Linked DNA regions of Homo sapiens: regions 1, 3, 4, 5 and 6 are each linked to region 2. Evidence: promoter capture Hi-C in 16 types of primary human blood cells and fetal thymus (Javierre and others, 2016). All regions are on one chromosome and are shown on one strand. The core of a region is centred on a gene start or on the middle of the fragment in contact, and the rest is flanking DNA. Distances in the headings are between cores, read along the strand shown.

What was found. Contacts are between HindIII fragments. The CHiCAGO score rates a contact against its expected background, and 5 or more counts as called.
Region 1: a contact is called between a fragment that was not itself captured here and the fragment with the promoter of UTP6 in region 2, in 1 of 17 cell types (endothelial precursors). The highest score is 6.0, in endothelial precursors.
Region 3: a contact is called between a fragment that was not itself captured here and the fragment with the promoter of UTP6 in region 2, in 2 of 17 cell types (M0 macrophages and M2 macrophages). The highest score is 7.1, in M0 macrophages.
Region 4: a fragment that was not itself captured here is called in contact with the fragment with the promoter of UTP6 in region 2 in 4 of 17 cell types (M2 macrophages, M1 macrophages, M0 macrophages and 1 more); the score reaches 9.0 in M2 macrophages.
Region 5: a fragment that was not itself captured here is called in contact with the fragment with the promoter of UTP6 in region 2 in 2 of 17 cell types (neutrophils and endothelial precursors); the score reaches 5.5 in neutrophils.
Region 6: a contact is called between a fragment that was not itself captured here and the fragment with the promoter of UTP6 in region 2, in 4 of 17 cell types (M0 macrophages, neutrophils, endothelial precursors and 1 more). The highest score is 9.1, in M0 macrophages.

The regions. Positions count from the first base shown.
Region 1 is chr17:31,400,318-31,404,866 of GRCh38, reverse strand. The region is part of intron 1 of RAB11FIP4 (RAB11 family interacting protein 4); the gene reads right to left. Among named protein-coding and RNA genes, the nearest start is that of RAB11FIP4, 11 kb to the right of the region's middle. RefSeq lists an enhancer at 4,145-4,549. The HindIII fragment of the contact is 8,648 bases long and covers 1-4,549 here.
Region 2 is chr17:31,900,428-31,904,758 of GRCh38, reverse strand. UTP6 (UTP6 small subunit processome component) reads left to right here and starts at 3,051. Exons shown (of 19, transcript NM_018428.3): 1 at 3,051-3,223. The coding sequence starts at 3,132. RefSeq lists enhancers at 3,057-3,106, 2,792-3,383, 3,427-3,576. The HindIII fragment of the contact is 12,725 bases long and covers 1-4,331 here.
Region 3 is chr17:31,579,422-31,583,882 of GRCh38, reverse strand. No RefSeq gene overlaps it. Among named protein-coding and RNA genes, the nearest start is that of MIR365B, 6.2 kb to the right of the region's middle. RefSeq lists an enhancer at 3,112-3,161. The HindIII fragment of the contact is 1,831 bases long and covers 1,756-3,586 here.
Region 4 is chr17:31,424,009-31,428,577 of GRCh38, reverse strand. The region is part of intron 1 of RAB11FIP4 (RAB11 family interacting protein 4); the gene reads right to left. It overlaps LOC105371725 (a long non-coding RNA gene), which reads left to right and starts at 2,462. Exons shown (of 2, transcript XR_934661.3): 1 at 2,462-2,532; 2 at 3,028-3,294. RefSeq lists a silencer at 3,061-3,261 and an enhancer at 2,932-3,659. The HindIII fragment of the contact is 585 bases long and covers 2,469-3,053 here.
Region 5 is chr17:31,453,954-31,458,399 of GRCh38, reverse strand. All of the region lies in intron 3 of RAB11FIP4 (RAB11 family interacting protein 4), which reads right to left. Among named protein-coding and RNA genes, the nearest start is that of RAB11FIP4, 65 kb to the right of the region's middle. RefSeq lists enhancers at 1-353, 354-1,202, 3,194-3,693, 3,694-4,195. The HindIII fragment of the contact is 6,740 bases long and covers 1-4,446 here.
Region 6 is chr17:31,554,753-31,558,991 of GRCh38, reverse strand. No RefSeq gene overlaps it. Among named protein-coding and RNA genes, the nearest start is that of MIR193A, 3.1 kb to the left of the region's middle. RefSeq lists a silencer at 1-214 and an enhancer at 1,317-1,941. The HindIII fragment of the contact is 4,973 bases long and covers 433-4,239 here.

The DNA.
Region 1 (4,549 bases), core at 683-3,182, 500 kb after region 2:
ATCCATTTCTGAAGTCCCACTCCAGAAAGGCTTTCTCATCTCCCAGGCAGAGTGACTCTCCTATCTTCATGCCTCAGCCACACCTGCACAAGCCCGCACCCTTCCCGCAGGTCTGGTTTCCATGTCAGTCCCCCGCCCCCACCGCAGGGAAGGAATCCTATCTTACTCATCTGTATACCCTCTGGCCCCAAACATGACACAGAATCTGACCTCAAAAAATCTGTAAAAGAGTGGATCAGACAGCTGACTCAGAAAACCTAGAGGTGGTGGTAACGGTCATTTTAACAAACATATGTGACACTATGTCACGTGTCGTTTTGAGGGTTTAACATGCATTGCTAATATTATCCCCACTATACAGATGAGGAGACTGAGGCATAAAGAGGTTAAGTAACTTCTCAGAGTCACGCAGCAAGTAAGTTGCAGAGCTGGGTCTCAAACCAGATGTGTCTGACACTAGGGCCCAGCTCCCAGTCACTTCCCCAGGGCAGGGAGAGAACCTGAGAGATGGCCTGGCCTGATCTGAGGTGCAGTAGAAAAGTGGAAGTGGGGACGGGGCGGAGAGCAGGATGGGGCCAAGGCCGGCTGGGGCTGCAGGGCCTCTGACTGGGGAGGATCTGCAGTGCAGGCCGAGGAGGATGCAGGAACAGGAGTGTGTGGTCCACGGGCTGGCGGGGCGGCCAACTGGAGACAAAGAAGACTCAGCCCCACACAGCCTGGGCCTGCAGAGGATTACCTATGAGTGCCTGGCAGGAAATCGGAGCAGTCAGAGAAATGCGCACCTCCTGGGGCCATGGAATCACCATTTGAACAGGAAGTGGCGCAGATGCATAATTCTGGGCACAGTTCGCTGGCAGCCTCCCTCCCTGCCCAGTGCTGGGATGCAGTGCCCATGAGAGGGCCCCTGGCCGCCCATCCTGCAGAGCCCAGACCTACTTCTGATCTGCGCATTTCCCAACCGAGACCACCCCAGGCTCAAAGTCCCCAGCCAGAGGAAGTCTCAAATTTCAGATTTCTCCAATGTTAGATTTCTGGAACTCAGATCAGGTCACTCTCTCCCTCCTCTGACCTTCTAAGAACATGAGACCCCCACAGCAGGAAGCTAAAAAGGCAGCTTTAGAACCTGACAGACCTGGGTTCTAATCCCAGCTCCACCAGTTACTCAAGACCCTGGACAAGTCACTTCACCTCATGGAGGCTCCTGGTTGCCGTGATGACGAAAGGGATTAAGAAATACAAAGGCAGGGCCGGGCGCGGTGGCTCATGCCTGTAACCCCAGGACTTTGGGAGGCCAAGATGGGTGGATCACAAGGTCAGGAGATCGAGATCATCCTGGCCAACATGGTGAAACCCCGTTTCTACTAAAAATACAAAAAATTAGCTGGGTGTGGTGGTGCACTCCTGTAGTCCCAGCTACTTGGGAGGCTGAGGCAGGAGAATTGCTGGAACCTGGGAGGCAGAGGTTGCAGTGAGCCGAGATTGCGCCACTGCACTCCAGCCTGGGTGACAGAGCGAGACTCCATCTCAAAAAAAAAAAAGAAAGAAAGAAAGAAATACAAAGGCAGCCAGCAAGTTTTGGTGGGTCCTGGAGTCCTTGGGTCTCCATATCCTCTCTGTCCATGGAAAATCACCAGTGGCTGCAGAAGACTTTGGTCATTGCACAAGGGAGCCCCATGCCTGGGGTGTACTGGGCAGAGAAAGGGGTCAGAGGTGCAGTCCTAGGACTGAGGGCAGCGCAGTACCCATGTGGGTCATGGCTGGGCGGGGGGGCGGGGCGGTGAAGAAATGATGCAATAGCCACCATGCTCAGTCATACTCATATATCTCTATATATTCAATCTCCAACCATCACAACAGTGCCACAAATAGGGGTATGACCTCTATTTTACAGATAAGGAAACTGAGGTCCACCTATCATAATAAGCACCTTTAAAAATAATCTGGCCAGGCGCGGTGGCTCACGCCTGTAATCCCAGCACTTTGGGAGGCCAAGGCGGGTGGATCACAAGGTCAGGAGATCGAGACCATCCTGGCTAACACGGTGAAACCCCGTCTCTACTAAAAATACAAAAAAAAAATTAGCCAGGAGTGATGGTGGGCGCCTGTAGTCCCAGCTACTTGGGAGGCTGAGGCAGGAGAATGGCGTGAACCTGGGAGGCAGAGCTTGCAGTGAGTCAAGATTGCGCCACTGCACGCCAGCCTGGGCGACAAAGCAAGACTCTGTCTCAAAAATAAATAAATAAATAAATAAATAAATAAATAAATAAAAATAAATAAAATAATCTGAGCCTTCACATTTTTCAGCAAGGTCCCAGCTCTTGCCAGACCCAATGGCCTGTGTGGGAAGTGAGAAATCATAAAAAAGAGTTGATTCCATAGAGGGCAGGAATCACTGCACTGAGGTGTTGCTGCTCATCCAAAACTCATCTGAGCTACTCAGACCCTCCCAGCTCCTGAGCCCTCCCGAAAGTCACCATCTGGTCCCTGTTCCAGCCTGAGTTCTCAGTCTCCCTGCCCTCCCTGTCCTTTCACCACATGGAGACACTTGTCACTCCCTGAAAATACCAGTCCCCATCCCTGGGTCTGTGCTTAGGACTTTTGCATGACTGATACTCAGGAAGTGGTAGATGGTGGGTGGATGGATGGATGGATGGATGGATGGATGGATGGATGGATGCATGGACAGATGGGGAGGCTACGGAAGTGGGCAGAAGGGTGGATAAACAGATGGGTGGACTAAGGGGTGCGTGGCTAATGAATGGATGGGTGGATGGACTGTTGGATGGGCGGTTCACTGGACGGATGGATCAGGAGGTACATGGTTGGGTATATATGGATGGAAGGGATGATGGATGGGTAGATGGATGGGTAAGTGGATGCTTAGGTGAACCGGCAGGCAGATGGTTGGATGAATGGGTGGAGGAAGTGTGAGCAGATGGAACTCTAGGAGATAGATTTCAGCTCGTTATATGAACAAGAACTCAGCCAGAGCCCTGCCAGGTGAGAATGGGCTTGCCTTGGGAGGCAGCGCGTCCCTGTCTCTTGGCTACTGAGTGATGCAGGCACTGAATGGGAGTCTCATTGAATGACCTCTACTCCCCTTCTGGTTTTTGTTTTGGTTCAAATCAATCCTCTGTCTATCCTGTCCAGGTGCTAGCCTTAGACTGGGATCTTCCTGGGGACAGTGCCCACTGCAGGCCCATGTGTCATCAGCAAACACTTTGGAGGAAGCTGGCAATCTTCTCCGGGTTTTGCGCCTGTAAGCCCTGAGCCACAGCAACTGCAGTGTGTGTTGGACTCAAGGCCTTGGTCTCCAGGGAAGCCAGAGGTCCTTACAGCTGGAATCTGGGCTACAGCTGTATGGAGCCTGCTCCCCGTCTTGGGTCATGGGTTGTTATAGAAACCTATAAGGATTCTGGGCTGCTCTGCTCATCCTGCCCTCAAGGGCACAGAAGCTATGGACAATGGGTCCTCAGCAGTGACCTCAGGGGTGACAGGTTGCAGGGAATTGGTGACCCTAAGCTATGGCCCCTGGGGGAGTCTCCAAGAATCTGAAGATGCTGGGGCAAGCCTGGCATTTTTTTTTTTTTTTAATTAGACAGAGTCTCGCTGTGTCGCCCAGGCTGGAGTGCAGTGGCGTGATCTTGGCTCACTGCAAGCTCCACCTCCCGGGTTCATGCCATTCTCCCACCTCAGCCTCCCGAGTAACTGGGACTACAGTCGCCCACCACCATGCCCAGCTAATTTTGTTTTTGTATCTTTAGTAGAGACGGGGTTTCACCGTGTTAGCCAGGATGGGCTGGGTCTCCTGACCTCGTGATCTGCCTGCCTTGGCCTCCCAGAGTGCTGGGATTACAGGCATGAGCCACCGCTCCCGGCCAAGCCTCACTTTTAAAGGGGGCCAGACCACACCTAGGTCAGCTTCTGTAAACTCCTTTGTTGTGGGCAATGAGATGAGACCCCAGGGCCAGGGTAGAAGGAAAGGGAGAAAGAGCCCAGGATGTGCCAGGCGGTGGGGGCTGAAGCGTGGTCCCCAGACCTGTCCATCGCCACTGGCTCCACAGCTGCACTCAGGTCTCACAGGCCAACGTGGAGCTCCCGAGTCCTCACCCAGCCCTCTTCCTCTCTGCCTCCCCACCCAGCAACGGCAGCTTGTCTCCAAAGTCTCCTCTTGCTCACTCCCACTGCCAATCGGCTCCATTTTCAAGATCCAGCCACTGCTCCACGGCTTCTCCTCTGCTCCTGGCCCCCAGCGCCCATCACCTGGGTGAAGAACTAGCCTTGGTGCTGGTCTCCCTGCCTCTCCCCGGCCCCTTCTGCCTCTCCGAGGAGCCACACAGCAGCCAGGGTGGTCCCCATTAAACCTAAGTCTGATCCTGTATCTCCTCCGCTCAGAACCCTTTGGGGGCTTCCATCTCATTCCAAGAAAGCCAAAGCCCCTGCAGGGAAGGCCACAGGAACTGGCCCCACCCTTGTCTTCGGGCTCACTGTGCCTCTAAGCCCCTGGGCAGGCTCCTGCCTCTGCCTGGACCACGTTTCCAAGACATAT
Region 2 (4,331 bases), core at 1,802-4,301:
TGCAGTGAGCCGAGATCATGCCACTGCCCTCCAGCCTGGGCAACAAACTGACACTCCGTCTCAACAACAACAACAACAACAACAACAAGAATATATACATAAACGCTAAATTTTGGCCAGGCGTGGTGGCTCATGCCTGTAATCCCAGCACTTTGGGAGGCCGAGGTGGGCGGATCACCTGAGGTTAGGAGTTCGAGACCAGCTTAGCCAACATAGTGAAACTCCGTCTCTACTAAAAAGACAATAATTAGCTGGTCGTGGTGGTGGGCGCCTGTAATCCCAGCTACTCGGGAGGCTGAGGCAGGAGAATCACTAGAATCTGGGAGGCTGAGGTTGCAGTGAGCCAAGATCACGCCACTACACTCCAGCCTGGGCAACAAGAGCAAAACTCCATCTCAAAAAAAAAAAAGCTAAATTTCAAAATAAGGGAGGATCGCTGGGCGTGCTGGCTTATGCCTGTAATCCCAGAATTTTGAGAAGGGGAAACAAGATGATCACTTGAGGCCAGGAGTTCAAGACCATGGTGACAATACAGTGAGACCCTGTCTCTATTTACAAAAACAAAAACACCATCCTCGGCAACATAGTGAGACCCCTGTCTCTACAAAAAAGAAAAAAGGAAAATTAGCCAGGTGCGGTGGGGCACACATGTAGTCCCAGCTACTTGGGAGGCGGGGGTGGGAGCATTGCTGGAGCTCAGGAGGTTGAGGCTGCAGTGAGCTGTGGTCACACCACTGCACTCCAGCCTGGGTAATATAGTAAGACCCTGTCTCAAAACAAAACAAAAACGTAATTAGGCCGGGCATGGTGGCTCACGCCTGTCATCCCAGCTACTCGGGGGATCGCTTGAACCCAGGAGGTGGAGGTTGCAGTGAGCCGAGAGCGCACCACTGCACTCCCCATTAGGCAACAGAGAGAGGCCACCAGGCCCAGCTAATTTTTTTGTATTTTTAGTGGAGACGGGGTTTCTCCATGTTGGCCACGCTGGTCTTGAATTCCTGACCTCAGGTTATCCGTGGCCTCGGCCTCCCAAAGTGCTGTGATGACAGGTGTGAGCCACAGTGCCTGGCCAGCGAGGCTCGGTCTTAAAAAGAACAACAAAACAAAACAAAACAATATAAAGGAGGAGCGTATTTATAGTTAGTTTGATTTAAAAATTGGGCGGGCGCGTTGGCTCACGCCTGGAGTCCCAGCACTTTGGGATGCTGAGGCGGGTGGATCATGAGGTCAGGAGATTGAGACCATCCTGGCCAACATGATGAAAACCTGTATGTACGAAAAACACAAAAATTAATTGGGTGTGGTGGCACGTGCCTGTAGTCCCAGCTACTCGGGCGGCTGAGGCAGGAGAATCCTTTGAACCAGGGGAGTCGAGGTTGTGGTGAGCCGAGATCGCGCCACTGCACTCCAGCCTGGTGACAGAGCGAGACTCTGTCTCTAAATAAATAAATAAAATAAAATAAAATAAAAATCATGGTTAATTTATGAAGGTCTCTATCAAATTTACTTTGAAATGATTACAGTCTGTCATAACTTGCTGACTTCCTTGTACCTAAAGAAATTTAGCAAGTACCTTTTCTTAGTGTCATGCATTTATTAACTGAGTACTTATTATATGGTAGGCACTGCTATAAGCTGTAGAGTATCTAGCCAGTCAAAAAGGAAAAAATTCCCTGCCCATATGGAGTTTACTATCTAGTGTCATCTCCACTCTTACTGTTAACACAGCCCCAGAGATTTTACTTTTACAAATAAATTCTATCTTTGTCTTACATTCGTGATTTCCTTCCACTTCTGACATGTCTTACAGCTGAAGGATTCAAGAAATGGTGTAGCACAAGCCAACCCTCGTCTCAGTTCTGAGATGAGTGGGTAAAATGTGAAAGGAAAGAAAGAAATGCAAGGCACAGAGGTGGAACATGGTTTTGCTGAGCCCATTCTCCTTTCATAAATCACACACAGGATCCAGGTGCTAATGTGAATGTTGAAATAAGCAGATTTAGCAAGAACTGCTGCTTTGGCTTTTTTATATCCAGAACTAAAAAAGAACTGAACCATGTAGTTATCATTTGAGGTTTACTAACTATACCAGCAATATTGCCTCCAAGCTGTGTTGCCTGGTGTTTCTCTTAGAAATGCTAAGTTGCTTGGGCAATGGTTTAAGGAGGGTGTCTATACCTTAGTGATTTATTTTGGTAATTCTCAAACTTTTCAATACAAAAATCTCCTTTTCTAAAAAGAATTTATAGTGTCTGATATTCACCTAGGGACATATATTTTGAAAGCTATTGCTTACAAAGACAGGATATTGATTTAAATAATAAACAATTCTATTTTATTTATTTATTTATTTAGAGACGGAGTTTCACTCTTGTTGCCCAAGCTGGAGTGCAATGGCGCGATCTCGGCCTCCCAGGTTCAAGCGATTCTCCTGCCTCAGCCTCCCGAGTAGCTGGGATTACAGGCGCGTGCCAGCACGCCCAGTTAATTTTTTTGCATTTTTAGTAGAAACGGGGTTTCATCATGTTAGCCAGGATGGTCTCGAACTCCTGACTTCAGGTGATCTGCCCGCCTCGGCCTCCTAAACTGCTGGGATTACAGGCATGAGCCACCGCGACCGGCTTTCAAAAATGTTTAATTGTACAATATCCTCCTCCTTTGCTTTTTTTTTTGTTGTTGTTCTTGGTGTTGGGAAGTCAGGACGTGGGATGGGAGACAATATTCTGAAGAAAATGCATCTCGTGTCCCTTTCAGGCTTGAGCAGCCCACCTCTCTACACCTGGAGGCGCTTTTCCTGATGGCTGTCCAAGTCTAGCGGCGCGCGCACTTAACCCCTCCCTCCCGTCTAGCCCCGCCCCTCAACTCCTGTCCGCTAGAGTCGTCCTGCCCAAGACCAGGGCGGGTTCTCGCTGCAATCCCACAATCGGCCACAGGGAGGGGACGGTGGCTGTAGAAGCCGAAGGGCCTTCCCCTAAGTAGGAGGTGGCGGAAGCGGAAAAGGCGGGACCTAGGGAGCACGTTACGTCCGGACGCGTCGGTGGTAGGGCTGGGTCTCCGAACCTGAAACCGGGAGCTTCCTGCTCGTGTTCGCTGTTGAGAAGCTACCCGCGGGGTTGTAGACCTCGGACCTCATGGCAGAGATAATTCAGGAACGCATAGAAGATCGGCTCCCGGAATTGGAACAGCTGGAGCGCATTGGACTGTTCAGTCATGCGGAGATTAAGTGAGAGAGGGTTGGGGAGAGGGAAGAGCTGAGGCGGCCTGAGGGGAGGTTGGGAGTGTGTGGCAGGGGCTAGATGTGGGGACGCTCGACCTGTGTTTACTTTTCCTAACGTGGTGGAAGCCCATTTCTCGTTTTCGGTGATGTCCAGAATTAATTTTTCATTCGTTGCAAGGTAATCCGTCCGTCTACTTACCCATCAGACGTTTTGACAGCCCTTCATGGAGCCGGGTCTTAGGGCTGTAAAGGTGATAAACCCAGGATTCCTGCTCATTAGGAGCTAATTGGGCAGAGTGTGGTGGGGGAGACAGACAAATTAAATATTTTGATAACAGTGTACTGTAAGTTGATTGTAGTACCTTGTACTGCTGTAGGGATGGGAACAGAGTGCTGTGAGAGCCCAGGGGGAGTGGATAAATTCCTAACTAGACTTGAAGGTGGGGACCATTGAAATCAGTTTCATATGCTACTCCAGAGCCTAACTACAGCGCCTGGCACATGGTAGACATTCAGTAGCGTGTTAAAATTATGTTTAATAGTTTTTAATGGTTTCTGTGACTGTTGCTTTGTTTTGCAACGTCTGAATGTAGTAATGTGACTCAGAGCTTCAAAGTAAGCATTCGTTAATGAAACACAAAACAAAGCAGTGTGGACGCTTAGAAAGTGCTCAGTTAAGGTTAATGTTACCATTACTAAAGACACCTGTCTTGCACATCTTGCATTAAATTCTCCTAATATATATTTGTCATATGTTCATTCCTTAGCTAAGGACTCTGAATCTTCTCCCGTAAGTCCTTCGTAGTAATAAGTCTTTTAAGGCAGACGCAATTTAGATTTTTAAAAAAATTTACATGTTGAGAACTCAGAAATAAGAGGAATTTCGGAAAGAAATTTATTATTAAAATTTAAGTGACCTGAACTTGGAGTAAAAGAAGTCTTTATTAATACCAGCCAGGCGCTGTGGCTCACGCCTGTAATCCCAGCACTTTGGGAGGCCGAGGTGGGTGGATCACGAGGTCAGGAGTTCGAGACCAGCCTGGCCAATATGGTGAAACCCCGTCTCTACTAAAAATACAAAAATTAGCTGAGCGTGGTGGTGAGCGCCTGTAGT
Region 3 (4,461 bases), core at 1,422-3,921, 320 kb after region 2:
AACTTTTAGGGGCAAATAAGAAATATTCCACATCATGATTGTGGCAATAGTTACAAGGGTGCACGCATTTGACAAAACTTATGAATTATACACTTACGGGTGGGTTTTGTTACATGTAAAGTATACCTCAATAAAGTTTATTTTAAAAAATACAAGACCAAAGAAAAACACTGCCTGTATTAAAACCCTTTCTGTGACAGAAACCCAACTCAGGCTGGTTTTAGGGAAAAAAGGACAGGCACACTGGCTCGCACCTATAATCCCAGTGCTTTGGGAGGCTGAGGTGGGAGGATCACTTGAAGCCAGGAGTTTGAGACCAGCCTGAGCAACACAGCAAGACCGCATCACTAGAAAAAAAAAAAATTAATTAGCCGGGTGTGGTGGCATGTGCCTGTGGTCCCAGCTACTCAGGAGGCTGAGACAGGAGGATTGCTTGAGCCCAGGAGTTTGAGGTTGCAGTGAGCTATGATTGCACCACTGCACTCCAGCCTGAATGACAGAGCAAGACCCTGTCTCTAAAAAAAGAAAAGAAAAAAGAAAAGGAAAAAGAAAAAGGAAAGGAAGGAAGGAAGAAAAGAAAAGAAAAAAGAAAAGAAATGTATTGGCTCACAAAATCAGGTTAGTCCAGGCTGCAGCTGGTTTCAGGCATGGCTGGATCCAGGGGCTCACTGATGTCTGGATCCATACTCTCCATCTCTTTGTTTTGTTTGTTTGTTTTGAGATGGAGTCTTGCTCTGTCGCCCAGGCTGGAGTGCAGTGGCATAATCTCAGCTCACTGCAAGCTCCGCCTCCTGGGTTCATGCCATTCTTCTGCCTCAGCCTCCCAAGTAGCTGGGATTACAGGCACCCGCCACCATGCCCAGCTAATTTTTTTGTATTTTTAGTAGAGATGGGGTTTCACTGAGTTAGCCAGGATGGTCTCGATCTCCTGACCTTGTGATCCGCCCACCTGGGCCTCCCAAAGTGCTGGGATTACAAGCCACGGTGCCTGGCCTCATCTCTTCATTTTCTTTCCTCTTTGTTGGCTTTGTCAAGTTGAGGACAGGATGGCCACCAGCAGTTCCCAGCCTACATCCTATCAATACAGCAACTCCCTCAGAAAAAGAATGCTTCTTTCCCCATAACTGCTGCAGATGTCCCATGGCAGAGTCTCAGGACTTGGCCTCCAGGCCTGGAACACATGCCAGTGTCTAAAGCCAGGGTTTGGGGTTGGCCACACCAGAACCCCAGAGATACAGGGTAGGGGAGAAGTGATCTCCTGAAGTTATTAACAGAAAAAAGAGGTATTAAAAGAGGTATTATCAGAAGGGGGCATGGAAAGCCAACAGATGGCCACCTCATACCCAGGGAGTAGTGTCAGCATACACCCCTACCTCCAGACAATTCCACATTGGCCAGACTATCAGGGACAGACCTCAAACCCACGCGGGCCCAAGGCTGCTTTTCCGTGACATCACAAACTCTGCCTATTAGCTACAAGAATCAAAACAGAAAGTAAGCACTAATTGCTTCCCCACCAGTCCAGCCAAACAGAAAGCCCTTCCTGCCTGTGCTGGGCTGTCTGCACCCCAAGGAAGCTGGCAGGGGAGGGAGCAGTTCCACATCAGCCACTCTGGCCCAGGCCCAGCAGGAGTGCCTCGGAGCTGACGGAGTCCGGGCTTATAGGACAAACCCCCTAGAGGGGAAGATGCCTCTGTGGGCGCTGGGCCTCAGCAATCTAGACCTGATGGGAATCCAGAGCAAAGAGGTAAAGCTTCAGTTTTCCAGTCCAGAGCCACTGTCCCAATACTTCACCCAGGGAGGAGACTGTCAGGAAAGGTTGTCCTTGCAGGGTCAAGGATGGAAGGCACCATCCTCAGGCTGTGACCCAAACTTCATTTCCTGAGCCGTGTGGGGCAACCACCATTCACTGGGCATCTTCCCCATGCCAGGCATCACTGAGTTCTCTGCTGAAGTGTACTCCTGGCCGGGAAGGGAAAGGCAGCCACAATTTCTTGTATCTATTTGGAAGAAGCCTAGAAAGTACCCACATTCCTACAGGGAACTATGGCACCCATCAAACAAATGAGGCAACAGGCTCAGCAGGGAGCTTTACCCCAGGTTCTCAGCTCAGTGACCGCCTTGATCAGACTCCCAGGCAAAGGCTCGTCCCAGCCCAACTCCAGGAGGTCAAAGCGCTTGTCTCAGCCTTGTCCAGCGGCTAGGCTGCTGACTGAGCTGAGGGCACTTCTGATCCAGGAAGCAGGAAGCCAAGGCAGCTTAGGGCTATCTTCCAACCCAGCTCCCCAGGGAACCTGGGCAAGAAAAGCCTGAGCTGATGCCCACTGCCCCATCTCCCACTAAGGTGCTGGCTGAATCTGCCTGTACAGCCATGCTGCTTTCTGGGAAGCAGGTTTAATGGACATCGCTGCCAAGAGTGTACACTCTGCTGCAAAGTGCTGGGCCGGGGGACGGTGAGAGCCAGACTGAGGAGGGAGAGGGCCAATGCCAAGCAAGGAAGGAGCGGAGGAGTACACGGGGCCCTCCCTTCCAAAGGAAGCCCGAGGGCTGGCCCAGAGCCACTGGGCTCCGGGAAAATGGTGTTCTGAGCTCCCAGATTCTATCTCTACCCTCCACGAGCAAGGCAGGCTGGTCCTCCGGCTCTGCAGACCTGCCAGGGAACAGCTGACCACTTCCTGGAGCCGACAATGCACCCATCGTTAGCTCCCTGCGCTGGCTGCCTGCCCAGCCTGCCCGCAGGCCAGGCCTCTGGAGCTGAGCTGGGCAGGAAGGAGAGAGGGGCAGGGACAGTCTGCTAGAGACCTGGGCACCCCCAGTAGAGCTCTGTCCCTGAGGACTCAGACAAGCAAGCCCCATGCAGGGCTGTGTTCCTTCCTAGATGCCTCTGTCCAGGCAAGGAGAGCTGGGTGACATGGGCCAAGCCTCTTGAGTGTTCTGAGCCTGTTCCTCATGTGTAAAATGGGGCCAAATCTCACCGTGCCCACAGCTGGGATTAGTGCAACAGGGCAGGCTGCGGGCAGCTGTGGGTCCAGGCTGGCTGGCAGGGGACACAGAGCATTGGGAAACTAGGGGATGATGACTCACCCTGCTGGGGCAGCCCCTACCCACGCCTCAGCATACTGTGATGACCAAGTGTCCAATTATTATTAAGCACAAGAATATGCTTCTTATGATCCATATGCTCATCATGAATACTAATGACTAGTACTACTGAAACAGCACTAATCTGGAGGGTCAGAAGTTGTGTATTTTACATCTCATCTCTGCCATATTCTGTGTCTTCAGATAAGTCCCCCGATCCCCTTAGCCTCAGTTTTCTGCTTGCAAAATGAGGATCAAAAGATGACTGAGCAGCAGAGACAGTAACGGAAATGAAAGTTGGCCAACTGCAAATGGTCACATCCCTTGATCGGGCTCTGAAGGCAAAGCTGGAGGAAACCTCTTCCATCTCTAGCTTGTGGGCATTTAACCCAACAGTTCTCCTCTGATTGCTTAAGAGACTCACCTGAGGAACATAAGAAAAAAAAAAATAATAACTGGTCAGGTGTGGTGGCTCATGCCTATAATCCCAGCATTTTGGGAAGCTTGAGCCCAGGACTTCAAGACCAGCCTGGGCAACATAGTGAGACCTCGTCTCTACAAAAAAAATTTTTTAAATGGCCAGGCACTGGGCGTGGTGGCTCATGCCTGTCATCCCAGCACTTTGGGAGGCTGAGGCGGGCAGATCACTTGAGGCCAGGAGTTTGAGACCAGCCTGGCCAACATGGTGAAACCCTGTCTCTACTAAAAATACAAAAGTTAGCCGCACGAGGTGGTGGGCACCTGTAATCCCAGCTACTCGGGAGGCTGAGGAAGGAGAATCACTTGAACCCAGGAAGCAGAGGTTGCCATGAGACGAGATCGCACCACTGCACTCCAGCCTGTGCCACAGAGCAAGACTCTGTCTCAAAAACAAAAACAAAAACAAAAACAACCACCAGCCAGGCGCGGTGGCACACACCACACGCTACTTGGGAGGCTGTGGGAGAATCACTTGCACCCCGGAGATTGAGGCTGCAGTGACCCAAGATCGAGCCACTGCACTCCAACCTGGGAGACAGAGAGAGACCCTGTGTTAAAAAAACAAACAACAAATAAAAAACAACAAACAAAAACAAAGATACCAGTCTTTGGGCCCTTTCATTCCCCAGCAATTCAGATCCAATGGGTCCTGCATGGGACCAGGCATTGGCATGTTTTTAATGCTCTCAAGTGATTCTTCTGTGCAGCCAGGTCAAGAAGCAATGCAGCCGCCCACTTATAAATCAGACGGGATAAAGCCCTCTTGTCCGGCATCCTCACTGACAATTTCATCAATCCTGGTTTAGAGAGACCTGGTGCTGCTCAAACACCCTCCAGCAAGATCACTGAGCTTCCTGGCCAGAGGCCAGCAGCGGCCCACAGCATATCCTGCTTGGTAAA
Region 4 (4,569 bases), core at 1,512-4,011, 480 kb after region 2:
CTCACACTCCTTGTCAGGCATCTTGCCGCTCCCCCTAATAATCACCATCAGTATCTATAGCACAGCCAGGCCAGGATGAGCTCTTTCCAGAATCTGCTCAGGCTGGGCTGCAGATGATGGATCTGAGGGCACCCGGGGCCTGCAGAGCACAGCATGCAGGAAACTGCTCACAGTCACTGTTGTCAGTGTTCACGCCATCACAGGCAGACTCGCCGGCATACCACACCACCCATCACAGGCACCGAAGCCAAACCACGTTGGGGATTCATCTATTTATAGGGACCACGTTTTTCTTGCATGCCCACAGCGTGGCAGCTGCAGCAGGGGTCTGAAGCCCTGGTCACTGCCGGTGGCCTGGCACCATGGGGGCTGTGCCCAGTGGGCTTTGGAAGGTGAGCAGTGGACAAAGAGGCCCCACCCTAACCATCTTCTCCTTGCCTGGAACCTGGCGGCTCTGTGCTTGCATCTTGATTCCAGCTGACCCTGCTTTTCCACTCTGGGGTGAGTCTGGGGTGAGGGAAGGGCAGAGGGGCCGTGCCACATTCTTTCTGTGAACCTCCCTGAACCTGGTACCTAGTGGGCTCTCAGGAAAGACCTGCAAAATTTCAGTAAAGGAGGAAAGTGGCTTTTTGCCAGCCTCCTCAACATTGCAGCTGCCCCCTCCCCCCAGCCATGCCAGCCTCTGACACTGCCAGGCAATGACGTGGCTTCTGAGAATAGCAATGCCCAGGTGCCACCTGCAGGGCTGCAGGGGAGCCCACCCACCATCCTGGCTGGCATTCCGCCTCCTCTCCTCCTGCCTTTGCATCGCTGGCATTATAGGGGGCCTGTGAATGTGGGGATGAGCCAGGGCACCCTCTACCCTCCAGCCTCCCATGCTCAGGCCTACAGTCCTCTCCAAGGTCAGGGCTCTGCCTTCATTATTTCTGAAGCAAGTCAAGGGTGGAGTCGGCCACAGAGTGCTGACTGACTGATGAGGACCCTCACCTCAAGTCCACCTAGGAGGCAGGAGTGCAGGGATTTGGATTCTGTAATCCCTGTGTCCACAGCTCCCTGAGGCTGGGAGACACTGGTGGGGCGAGCTGTCCATTCCTCTGCCAGCAAAAGCCTACCTGGGACAGAGGTGGGGGTGGGGTTGTTTGATGACAGGCAGACAGATGGGGTACTGAGGGCCACTGCATGGTCCCCGAAGCACCCACGCCATGGCCCAAGCTGCAACCGGGGGCACACCCCAGGCTGTGACCTCTCTACAGCTGCTCCCACAGGGCTCTTCAAAGAGTGGCAGCCCCAGAGTAGTGGCCACAAAAGTGCCAGGCCAGCCGGGCGCAGTGGCTCATGCCTATAATCCCAGCACTTCGGGAGGCTGAGGTAGGTGGATCACCTGAGGTCAGGAGTTCGAGACCAGCCTGGCCAACATAGAGAAACCCCTGTCTCTACTAAAAATACAAAAATTAGCCAGGCGTGGTCATGTGTACCTGTAGTCCCAGCTACTCAGGGAGGCTAAGGCAGGAGAATCGTTTGAAACAGGGAGGTGGAGGTTGCAGTGAGCCGAGATTGTGCCACTGCACTCCAGCCTGGGTGACAGGGCAAGATTCCGTCTCAAAGCAAACAAAAAACAAAAAACAAAAATGGCCAGGCACACTGATGTCCTGCCCTTTAGAAAACAAGTGTGAAATTGGGCTGGGCGTGGTGCCTGGCGCCCGTAATCCCAGCACTTTGGGAGGCCAAGGTGGGCAGATCACTAGGTCAAGAGATTGAGACCATCCTGGCCAACATGGTGAAACCCCGTCTCTACTAAAAATACAAGAAAAAGTAGCTGGGCATGGTGGTGTGCACCTGTAGTCCCAGCTACTTGGGAGGCCGAGGCAGGAGAATCGCTTGAACCCGGGAGGCAGAGGTTGCGGTGAGCCAAGATGGTGCCATTGCACTCCAGCCTGGGCAACAAGAGCAAAATTCCGTCTCAAAAAAAAAAAAAAAAGGAAAAGAAAAAGAAAAAAAAGAAAACAGGTGTGAAATTATTAGAACAATGCATGCTGGTTATTACCAATACATACCATCAACCACAGGCTCAGTGATTTTTAAAATAAATAACAGCATCATTTATGTGGAGAAGTATTGCAAATGCTTGGAGTCCACGGAGGGTTCACACATAGTCTCATTTAATCCTCACAGCAAACTTAACAGTAGCTATTATTATAGTCCCCCATTTTAAATTGAGGAGACTGAGGCTCAGAGAGGGTAAGACATTTAGACAAAGTCACTGCAGTGGTAACGCTCCCCTTTTATTTTCCTTTTTTTAAATTTAAAATTTTTGCCCACCTGTAGTGGCAACTCTTGAACCCAGGTCTTACTGACCCCAGAGAGTCAGCCACTGCTCCCTGTTGCCTTCCTGGGCCAGAGACTCTCACGGGGCTGTCTGCACTAAAGTGTTCTTTCTATCCCCTGGCGCCCTGAGCATCAAAGAAGCTTTACTCACTACGTGGGGACCCCTCGCCTTGGATCACAAAGAGTCTCGACCTTCCTGGACATCAGGTAACCTTTTGCCACAGATGGTCCTCGGCCAGACACATTCCACTGACCCAGCCCGTCATTTCACAGTTGGTGAAGCGAGGTCCCAGCGGGGGGAGGGGTTTGCTCAAGGTCACGCAGGGAGCATAGCAAATAGCCACCCCATGTGGTCTTCGTGGGGAGCCTGGGCCCCAGGCAGGGGAGCTGGGGGCCGCCCCCACCCTGGGGCACACACCATGCGTGGCTGGGCAGCCCTGGGGCTCCCCCTCTGGCTCCCAGGCCAGGAGAGACGGGTTCGCCAGGCCTGGCAGGCATTGCAGAAGCAGCTGTTGTCACTGAAGCACACACAGCTGGGCCCCAGCTTGCTGCCAGGGAAATTGGTTGTTCACTGGAAGTAAAATATTGATCTTTCCTTTTTGGGGCCACTCAATTACCAGGCTTCCCCTTCTATTTCTGTTGCCTTTCTCTTTGAGCTGATTTTTTCCCCCCACTCAGTCCCCTGGGTCACATCTCTTCTAGCTCAGACCAGATGATGTTAAAAAGCTTCGTTGCCGTTGCTGTCTGATTGATTACCAGCCAGATACTCCCTGAACCCATGCCCAGCCACCCACGCCTCCCTAATTTCAAGGTCTGAAGGCCAGATGGACTCAAGCAAGCCATTTGCCTTTCTGAAATCTCAGCTGCCTCATCTGAGCAAGTGAGATAAGCCGGCTTATCTTGCCGCTGTGAAGCTGTCTGCAAGGCAAGGTGCCTAATAAACGTCAGCCATTACTCACGGGAATCAAAGCAAATGCTTAGCGAGCCTTCCTTTGTGCCAGGCACTGTTCTGAGCGCTCTATGCATATGAATTTGTTTAATCCTCGCCACCACCTGGGAAGCAGATACCATTATTATTCCCATTTTACAGGGGAGGAAACTGAGACATAGAAAGGCAAAGTCATTCAGAATTAAGGTCACACAGTTCGTAGAAGACGGCTGAACACAAGAGGCCTGGTTCCAGACTCCATGCCCTTAGCCAGTAATTATTATTTCTGCTAAAATAATTGCAATCACTATTATTATGCTGACAGGTTTAGGGGCTTGCTCTGACCAGAGAAAGAATAAATCTGTATTCTGCTCTCTTTTAATCTAGAAAAACTGGCATTGGTACTGACAACTTTTGCTTAAGAATTTGAGTATTAAAAGAAAAATTAGGCCAGGCACAGTGGCTCATACCTGTAATCCCAGCACTTTGGGAGGCCGAGATGGGTGAATCACCTGAGGTCAGGAGTTCGAGACCAGCCTGGCCAACATGGTGAAACCCCATCTCTACTAGAAATACAAAAATTAGGCAGGGTGTGGTGGTGTACACCTGTAATCCCAGCTGCTTGGGAGGCTGAGGTGGGAGAATCACTTGAACCTGGGAGGCGGAGGTTGCAGTGAGCCGAGATCGTGCCACTCTACTCCAGGCTGGACAACAGAGCGAGACTCCGCCTCAAAAAAAAAAAAAAAAATTAGCTGGGTGTGGTGGTGCGCGCCTGTAGTCCCAGCTACTGGGGAGGCTGAGGCAGGAGAATTGCTTGAACCCAGGAGGCGGGAGGTTGCAATGAGCCAAGATTGTGACTCCATCTCAAAAGAAAAAAAGAAAGAAAAATTAATTTTGAGACACTGTGCCACTAAAGCAGAGGTGGCCAGCTAGCATCTCAGATGTGGCTTGAGGACAGACTTAAAATTAGATGCCAATATTTAAAGCCAAGCAAGCCTCCTGGTTCTGGTTAAGATGGAGTAAGCACACTACAGTCTAGCTTTCCCATTGATTATAACTAAAAACCCTGACAGAAGACATAAAACAACTACACAAGGACTGTGAAAAGTGAATAGTGGAAGGTGAATTGGGGAGGAAAACAAAAACGTTAAGTAAGATGAATACGGTGGTGAGCTTGCATATTTCCTGACCTAGACTCAGGAGCCCAAATCCCAGAACTGTGCAGCAGGTGCACAGAGAAAAAGCTACGGAAGAAACTCTCTTTCTGATGAGAAGCCGGGAAAGGGGGGCCTCCTGGGAAAAATCGAGTGGGAGAA
Region 5 (4,446 bases), core at 790-3,289, 450 kb after region 2:
AATGCCCTGCGGGGCTCCCATGATACTTTGCTTCATGCCTCTGGGTAGAAGATGGTCCTGCAGCACTGCAGATGCTCCTGATGCGCAGCTCCCAAGCTATGCAGCTCCTCAAAGGAGTCCTCTGGTCCTGCCTCCAGGGATGGGGTGGAGGGAGTGAGGAGAGGCCTGGGACACCTGAGGAGCCTCAGGAAAGGTGGACTCAGCCCGCATTCTGAGGCAACTGGATCAGATGCAGCTAAAAATCCTGGCCCTGCACACTGTGGCCCCAAGGCCTTGGACACACGTCTTAACTGCTGTCTGAGCCTCAACTTCCTCATCAGCGAAATGGGTACCACAGTACCTACTTGGCAGGGTTGGTCTGCTGGGGGTGGTTAAAGGAGATTAGCATGGGGACACTCCATCTGTCCCTTCCCTCAAGGCCTTTTGTCTGGCTCCTGCTGAGACCTGGGTCAGACTGGAAGGTTCCCTGTGTTGAGAATGCAGACTTCAGGACAGAGAGAGATGGGGTGCAGATAGAGAGAAGAGACAGAGCGGGGAGGGGAAAAGGAGAGAGAGGAAGGGAGGATAGTCAGGGACGGAGAGGGAGGCACACATGCAGACAGAGACACACACAAAGAGAGAGAGCACAGAGGCACAGAAAGGGCCAAGTTGAGAGACAGAGGGTAGGGCAGCAGGAGGGGTGTGGCCACCTGCGGGGCTGGGGGTGAGGGTGGTGGGGGTCAGGCCTGCTCCCACCCCCAGGCTGTAACAGCCTTCAAAGCTCCCGCTGGGTCTCTTATCAGTCCTAGGAGGCAGCTGGGTGACTCCTCCTCTCCTTCCCACTCTCCCTCCACCTTGTCCCGCCCCACCCCGGAGAAAGGGGAAGAAGCAGGCAGGAAGCCAGTTCCAGGGGGGACTGGGGTGGGGTGAGAGAGGGAATGGATAGTGCTTCCCCAGGTTAGGCCTGGGGACCCCTTTGAGGAGAAGGAGAGGACACAGGGCATGGCCGGAACTGGGGACCCCTGGGGAGAGGTGAGAGTGTGACCTGCTAGTTCTTGGAATCTCTGTGAGAGGTCAGCTCCTGACTCTGGAAAGGCCCTCAGTCAACGTCAGTGAACAAACAGGGACCAAGTAACTTGGTCAGGCCCAGCGCAGGGCACAGCAAGCCATGAAGCTGGTCCTCGTCCCCCAGGAGAACACAGTCGAGAACCTGTGAGGAAGGCCCTCCAAATTCCCATTCTCTACCTAAAACACGATGCTTGTTAACTAAACTCTAGTTTCTCTCTTTCCCCCAGTTCTGTGAACTTTGGCCACCCTCACCTGAGCAACTCACTATCCCTCCTTACAGCCCTCCGGAGGACAGGTTGGCCTGCATTAAGACAGGCCCCCAGGACCAGGCCACCTTTTCAACCTACCTCCCCGCACCAGTTCTTTCAAGCCTTGTTTACTCTTGCCTAGAAAAGAACAACCCTTTCGGCTTAACTTTGGAGGTGCAGGAGGATCTTCTGGTCAGTGCTCTCTCCCACTGCAATGCTCCCGCTTCCATTGGAATAGTCCCCTCCCCACCACCCCCAGGCAATAATAATCCTTTAATAAGTCTCTCCTTAGTAAATCAAGATTCCTTTTTATCTCTTCCTGACAGCTATGAAATTATTTACAATAAAAGACACATTCATAGCTAGAGTAGTAAAAATAAAAATAAACCATAGAGAAAAAGGAGGTAAATGATTAAATGGAAAGGCAGATTTTATTGATTCACCAGTCTCATTAGCTCTAAGTTTTCTGACTTACCAAAACCAAAAAGGACAGCAAGGGGATAGTTATGCTGTAACTCTTGTTATCTGATGTAAAAAGGTATCATTTCATCAGGAAGGACTTCTTTTCTGGTACAAAATCCTAAAAAGAATGTACTAGGGGCCAGCAGGGTGGCCCACGCCTGTAATTCCAGCACTTTGGGAGGCTGAGGGGGGCGGATCGCTTGAGCTCAGGAGTTCGAGACAAGCCTGGGCAACATGGTGAAAGCCCGTCTCTACAAAAAATACAAACGTTAACTGAGAGTGGTGCCGCATGTGTGTAGTCCCAGCTACCTGGGAGGCTGAGGTGGGAGGATTGCTTGAGCCTAGAAGGCTGGGCCAAGATTGTGCCACTGCACTCCAGCCTGGGTGACAGTGAGACCCTGTCTCAAAAAAAGAATATATTGGATCAAAGAGTACACAGGATGACAAATCAGCTGTAAGGTTTCCTGTAGCAATTCTAATGAAATTGAAGCAATATTCAATGAGCCGTGAGAATAAAAACAAAATGTACAACAGTAAAGACGTATTTGCAAGGAGGTAAGAGCAAACAGCGCTTTCTGACACGGAACTTGGTATTAGGATAGATAATGGAAAATCTAAAGGAATAGGGTTAACATGACCTGAAGATGCTGAAGATGACTGACTTTCTCCGATATCACATGTCAGAGCTGAGCCTCTGCCTGTAAGCCCAGGATGGCACTCTCAGCGGAGGGTGAGTGCAGCTGCCTTGGGAGCGTCAGCCCTGAAGGTGGCAAAGCTGACATTCACTGCAGCAGGTAAGGGTCCTGACATGCCTCCTGCCTGGTACCCATCTCAGAGGCCCCTTCAGCCTAGATTAAAGTTTCCCTTGAGGAGAAGGGGTCTGACCAAGAATGTTGCAAGTCACAGCACAAGACAGAAACCCCAGGCTGGGCTCGATAAGGCAGTTGTTTTGAAATATTGGTTGTAAAGTCAACCAATTATCAACACATTATCAGAGCAGACCCACTCCCTGTGGTCAAAGGAGACCTAGTTTGAGTAGGTACAGTGAGGTACCCATGTGTACAAGGCAGAGGACTGGGGAAGGGACTGAGGCAGGAACTTGAAGGGGATCCAAATATGCCACCCTGCAATACGCCACTTTGGCATAAGGATTATTTTGAGCTGAAGGCAACTGAGAAACAGCAGACACAGGATGAGCTCTCTGCCCTCCCCTTAGGTGCCTGAAAGTAGGGCATAAATTTCCATTTGTAAATGTGCCCCCCTCTCCCGTCCCATGAAAAGGAGAATAAATCCAATGGGGAGGTTATGTATCTGTATAACACATCTAAACCACCACCCCCAATCTAACACACATTTCCTAGCTACCTTCCCAGAATATACTGCCCTTAGGAGCCCAAATCCCCCTCTTCCTTGTTTAGTTACTTGCCCACAACTTATCTTCCTTTGTCAAAATTGTATATAAACCCTGGGTCTGACCATCTCTTTGGCTTTTCATGCATGTAAAATTAAAAACAACAATAAAATTCGTATGCCTTTTTTCTATTAATCTGTCTTTGCTCAATTTTATTTGCAGACTGCAGACATAACATAAAAGGGTAGAGGAGAAGTTTTTCCTCCCCTACAGACTTGTTCAGACAGGAGACCAGAGACTGGAGACCAGTCCTCTTCCTGCCTGTTCCCACTGTGGTGCTAATCGTCAGTTCACCTGGCACCTCCACTGCCTCCCTAGAGCCCACAGACAGTTTCCATCTTTTTTTTTGAGAAGGAGTCTTGTTCTGTTGCCCAGGCTGGAGTGCAGTGGTACAATCTTGGCTCACTGAAACCTCTGCCTCCTGGGTTCAAGCGATTTTCCTGCCTCAGCCACCCGAGTAGCTGGGACTACAGGCAGGAACCACCGGGCCTGATTAATTTTTGTATTTTTAGTAGAGACGGGGTTTCACCATGTTGGCCAGGATGGTCTTGAAGTCCTGACCTCAAGCGATCCACCTGCCTCGGCCTCCCAAAGTGCTGGGATTACAGGCATGAGCCATGGCCGCCTGACTGAGTTTCCATCTTAAGAATCAGACTTAGGCAAGGCACAGTGGCTCATGCCTGTAATCCCAGTGCTTTGGGAGGCTAAGGTGGGCAGATTGCTTGAGGTCATGGGTTCGAGAACAACCTGGCCAACATGGTGAAACTCCATCTCTATTAAAAATACAAAAATTAGTTGGGCGTGGTGGCACATACCTGTAGTCCCAGCTACTCGGGAGGCTGAGGCAGGAGAATCGCTTGAACCCAGGAGGCGGAGGTTGCAGTGAGCTGAGATCGCACCACTGCACTCCAGCCTGGGTGACAGAACGAGACTCCATCTCAAAAAGAAAAGAATCAGACTTTATGCTCTGTCTTCTATGACAGCCATTTTCATTTTCCTGGTCAGGAAATGGAATGTAGCAATGATCTGGTTGAGAACAGCTGTTTAATCTCTCTAATACAATGTTGGAGCATTTGCCCTCTGGCTCGGCAGGTGTGGTTTTCATGTGATCAGGCCAGTCTCTGCCCTGGGAGAATGGTCTGACAAAGGGGTGGGCTCAATTCTTGAGAATGCCCAGGGGCTGACTTTTCTAGCTAGTGCTAGAGCAGCAGGTGGCTGTGGGTGGGGCTGGGGGGGATGCGGTTGTGGGAGGAGGACTGGGCCCCAGGCCTTGCTATC
Region 6 (4,239 bases), core at 1,670-4,169, 350 kb after region 2:
GTCTGGAGTGCCTTCCTCCCAGTCACGCAGTCCTTCCCGCCCCGGAGCCCAGTAATTTTCCCTTTTCCTCCTTTGACCCGTCCGAGCAGCTGCCAGCGCTTCCTCCCGCGGAGACCGGCGCGGGGAGCCCCCTGCCGGCCGCTCCGCTCCCGGGCCGCGCCCCCGCCCGGTGGAGCGCGCCTGCCGCCGGCCTCAACTTCCCCATCTAGAACCTGGAGCCGCCGGGCACTTCTGGCAGGGCTTTGGTGGCAAAGATTATAAATTAAAGTGCCAAGCATAGTACCGGGCAGCATACTTTCTTGAGATGTTAAAATTTCGTGCTTTCAACTCCCAGTTCCAGCGGCCTGCAGACAACCTCTCTTCCTGGCTGTGCTGTTTGAAAAGCTGAGTTCCTTTAGGGAGACTGTGGAAAAGGAGTGGGACAGAAAAGCTTTGAGGCTGAGTAAGAGCTGTCCCAAGATTAGCGAGGGGTGGGAGGTCAGTGGAATCCCCTTGGTGGAGACCTGCTGCCCCACTGTCTCTCCGGAGACGCCAGGATGTGGGAGAGTAACTGCGTGTCTCCTCTGGGACCTGAACCAGGCCTCTACCAAGATCCCCAGCCTCAAGATGGCCAGGATTCCAGGCACCGTGGGTGATGGGGAAGCCCAAATAACCACTGAGGTTGAGTTTCCCAACCTCTTCAGGTCGAGATTTGGAGCCATTTAAAGAAAATAACGTGACATATCTGTTTGTGTCCCGACATAGATATTAGCTATGTTCCTGCCTTCTCTTTCCTGGCCTCACCAACCCAGATCATGCCTTTAAATCTCACTATGAGGCTGGGCACGGTGGCGCACACCTGTAATCCCAGCACTTTGGGAGGCCAAGGCAGGATTGCTTGAGCCCAGGAGTTTGAGACCAGCCTGGGAACATAGTGAGACTCTGTCTTTACAAAAAGTTAAAAAAAAAAAAAAAATTAGCTGGGCGTGGTGGCACACACCTGAGGTGGGAGGATCGCTGAAGCCCAGGAGTTAGAGGCTACAGTGAATTATGATCGCACCACGGCACTCCAGCCTGCGTGACAGAGGGAGACCCTGTCTCTAAACTTCACTTTGGTAAGGGTTGAGTGGTATATCTGGTTTATCTGATCCCCACATCGGGATCCCTGGGTAGGACATGTCCAGGAGCTGGTGCTCCCAGGAGTGCGTAGCTGGGGGAGGGATGGCGGCCAAGCGCTGGCAGAGATGCCCAGTGCTGGGGCATGGACAGCGCTGGCCCCAGGCCTCTGTAATCGCCATTTTGTGGGAGCGCAGGATTAGAAGGGAAGAAAGAAGATGCCCTGACGTTGCTGGAGATGCAGCCGGGGCTGGAGGGGGTCTGGAGTTAGTGTTCTGCTTTCTCTTCCCCTTTTATTGCTCGCTCCAAATCTGACAAACCCTTAGGATCTCTGAGACTCAGGAGCCGGGAGGAGCCGGTGTCCTGGGGGGATGAAAGGGCAGGGTTGTAATGGGTTTACCCCGGTGCTGATCCCAGAGAAGCTCGAAGAAGATTAAGATTTGCTCCCTGGGCCTGAAATCTCCCTGCTACCCCCTGACCACATCAAAGGACACGGCCGTGGGGGGTGCCTAATCCCATCAATGGAATCAAAGCTGGACAAGAAAGGAAATTCTTCGATCTTGGGGCAGCAGCAGGATGCAGCTCACTACAGAAAGGCAGATCGAGGTCCTGGCCTTTTCCACTGGCGGGAACATCCCAAGAAAGATCCAGTCCACAGGCAGATAGGGCCTGCCCTTTTCTTCCTGAGGTGGCCACTGCGGGAAGGTCAACCACAAGAACTTGGGATACCCAGCAGCAGGACTGGGCCTGCCTCCAGGGGCAGAGAAGGACCCCGGGGGCAGGGGGTGGGGGCTCACCCAACATCCCAACATCATACAGCTTTTCTGGCTCCCAGCTTGACTTCTGGAAGGGGCTTTTGCATGTGACACTCCTTGCCACCAGCGTTTCCCAAAAGGTGGTGCTCATATGAGAGATGGTTTTAGATGGAAAAAAATGTAATATGTAGTATTAAATATAAATTTTCTGAATATTGCTGTTACAATGAGGCAAAAATGGTTAAAGTGAGCCAACTCAAAGACAAGAATTTAGTAAATAATGTTATAGGTAGTATTCTGATATGACAACAATAATGGCAGTGGTATGCAAATGCAAATTACTAAAGTTAGAAAAATAGACCAGGCGCAGTGGCTCAGGCTTGTAAGCCACAAGCACTTTGGGAGGCCAAGGCAGGCAGATTGCTTGAGCTCAGGAGTTCAAGACCAGTCTAGGCAACCTGACGAAACCATGTCTCTACAAAAACAAAAACAAACAAAAAAAATTAGCTAAGCGTGGTGCCGCGCACCTGTAGTCTCAGCTACTCGGGAGGCTGAGGTGGGAGGATCACTTGAGCTCAGGAGGTTGAGGCTGCAGTGAGCTGTGATCATACCACTGCACCCTAGCTTGAGCAACAGAGTGAGACCCTGTCTCAAAAATTAAAAAAAAAAAAAAAGAAAAGAAAGAAAAACACTCCTTTCAATCATCTTTAGAGAAATGTTGCCTTAGAACAGTAGCTTTCAAACTCAGTCATGCCCCATGATAGGAAATACCTGTGTGTGTACGTATGTATATATGTGTATGTATCTATGTACATGTGTAAAACAAATGTTTTATGAAACAATTCTTATGCACTCAAATATATATTCTGTGTTACCGTTTCATTTTTAGAATGCTGTTTACAAGCTGTTAAATTGGTTTCACTTAACAGGGTTACCTCCTGCTGTTTGAGAACTTCAAGAACATACCATGATGATGATGATATTAACATCTCTCTGTTATTTTTATTTATTTATTTATTTATTTATTTGAGACAGAGCCTCACTGTGTTGCCCAGACTGGAGTGCATTGGCGTAATCTCGGCTCACTGCAACCTCCGCCTCCCAGGTTCCTGCCTCAGGCTCCCTAGTAGCTGGGATTACAGGCGCCCGCCACCATGCCCAGCTAATTTTTGTATTTTTGGTAGAGACGGGGTTTCACCATGTTAGTGAAACCTGACCTCGGGTGATCCTCCTGCCTCAGCCTCCCTAAGTGCTGGAATTACAGGTGTAAGCCACTGCACCCGGCCCAGAAAGAGTTCTGAGAGAAGACATACGCATCCTGGGGACCAGAGGGAGAAAAGGGCTGGTGATAACCTGAAGTACTTTGTAGGTGACTATGGAATTTGTGAGGGTGATTTTCTCAGCATATTCTGCTTAGATGGCAATGCACCTGGGTTTTGTTTCTCTCGGCCCAAATGATCTGGACCAAGGGAGAGCCCCAGAATCAGGGGAAAGGCAAGCAGGAAGGGAAATCTTTACTGCAGAAAAACTACTCTGGCATTACCAGACTTGTCACTGCTTATGGCCTGTTTCGATTCCTCACCTTCTCTGCAACCTTCTGAGAGTTATTTCCTGCCTCTGAAGTTCAGTTTCCTCATCAGCAAAATTGGGACGTGATTTTTTTCTCTGTGATTTCTCCCAACTTGATTGTTCCATTACTGGAGGATGAGAAGTTGAGTTTTCTTTTTCTGACCTTCATTCATTCAGCCAACAAATGAAGAGCCTCATTTTATATACCAGGGGAAGAGAAGACAGGACGCTTGCCCTCAAGCAGCAGCAGAGGGGTAAATTCCCCAGAAAGGAATCCATTGTCTCCAGGTGTTGTCATATTTCAGCAATGCCATGGCTGTGCTTTCAGCTGAATTCAGTTTTCCTGGATGATGGGGTCTGGGGAGGAGGCAGGTGACCTGAGGCTCCCTACCCAGGCTGGCCTTCTGCACGTGATGCTGAGGATGACTCCTGGGAAGTGAGGTCACACAGTGATCCCTACTGGCCCCAGGTCCCAGCCCTCTTACTCAGTGTTCTTTGAAATGCTTTCAGTAGCCAAAGCCCATGTCTGGAAAATATTAGAGCCCTTGATCCAGAAGTTAAGCCTTTGGCCTATGAGCTTTATCTTTGCCCTCACTCTCTGTGACTGAATTGATTCTTGTCTTTAAGTTCCCACTCTGTGTGTGATGGTCACTGTGCCATGTTACCCCTTCAAGAAAGGGTTTGTCCCAGCTGCTTGGAGTGCTGTCAACAGACTGTCTTCTGCCATTAGAGCCGCCTAGTCTAAGCTCTCTGGACAGCCCACATCCAGTGAGTGGTGGGGGAGGGGGGCTCTCCCTCATTTCACACCTGCTTCCCACCC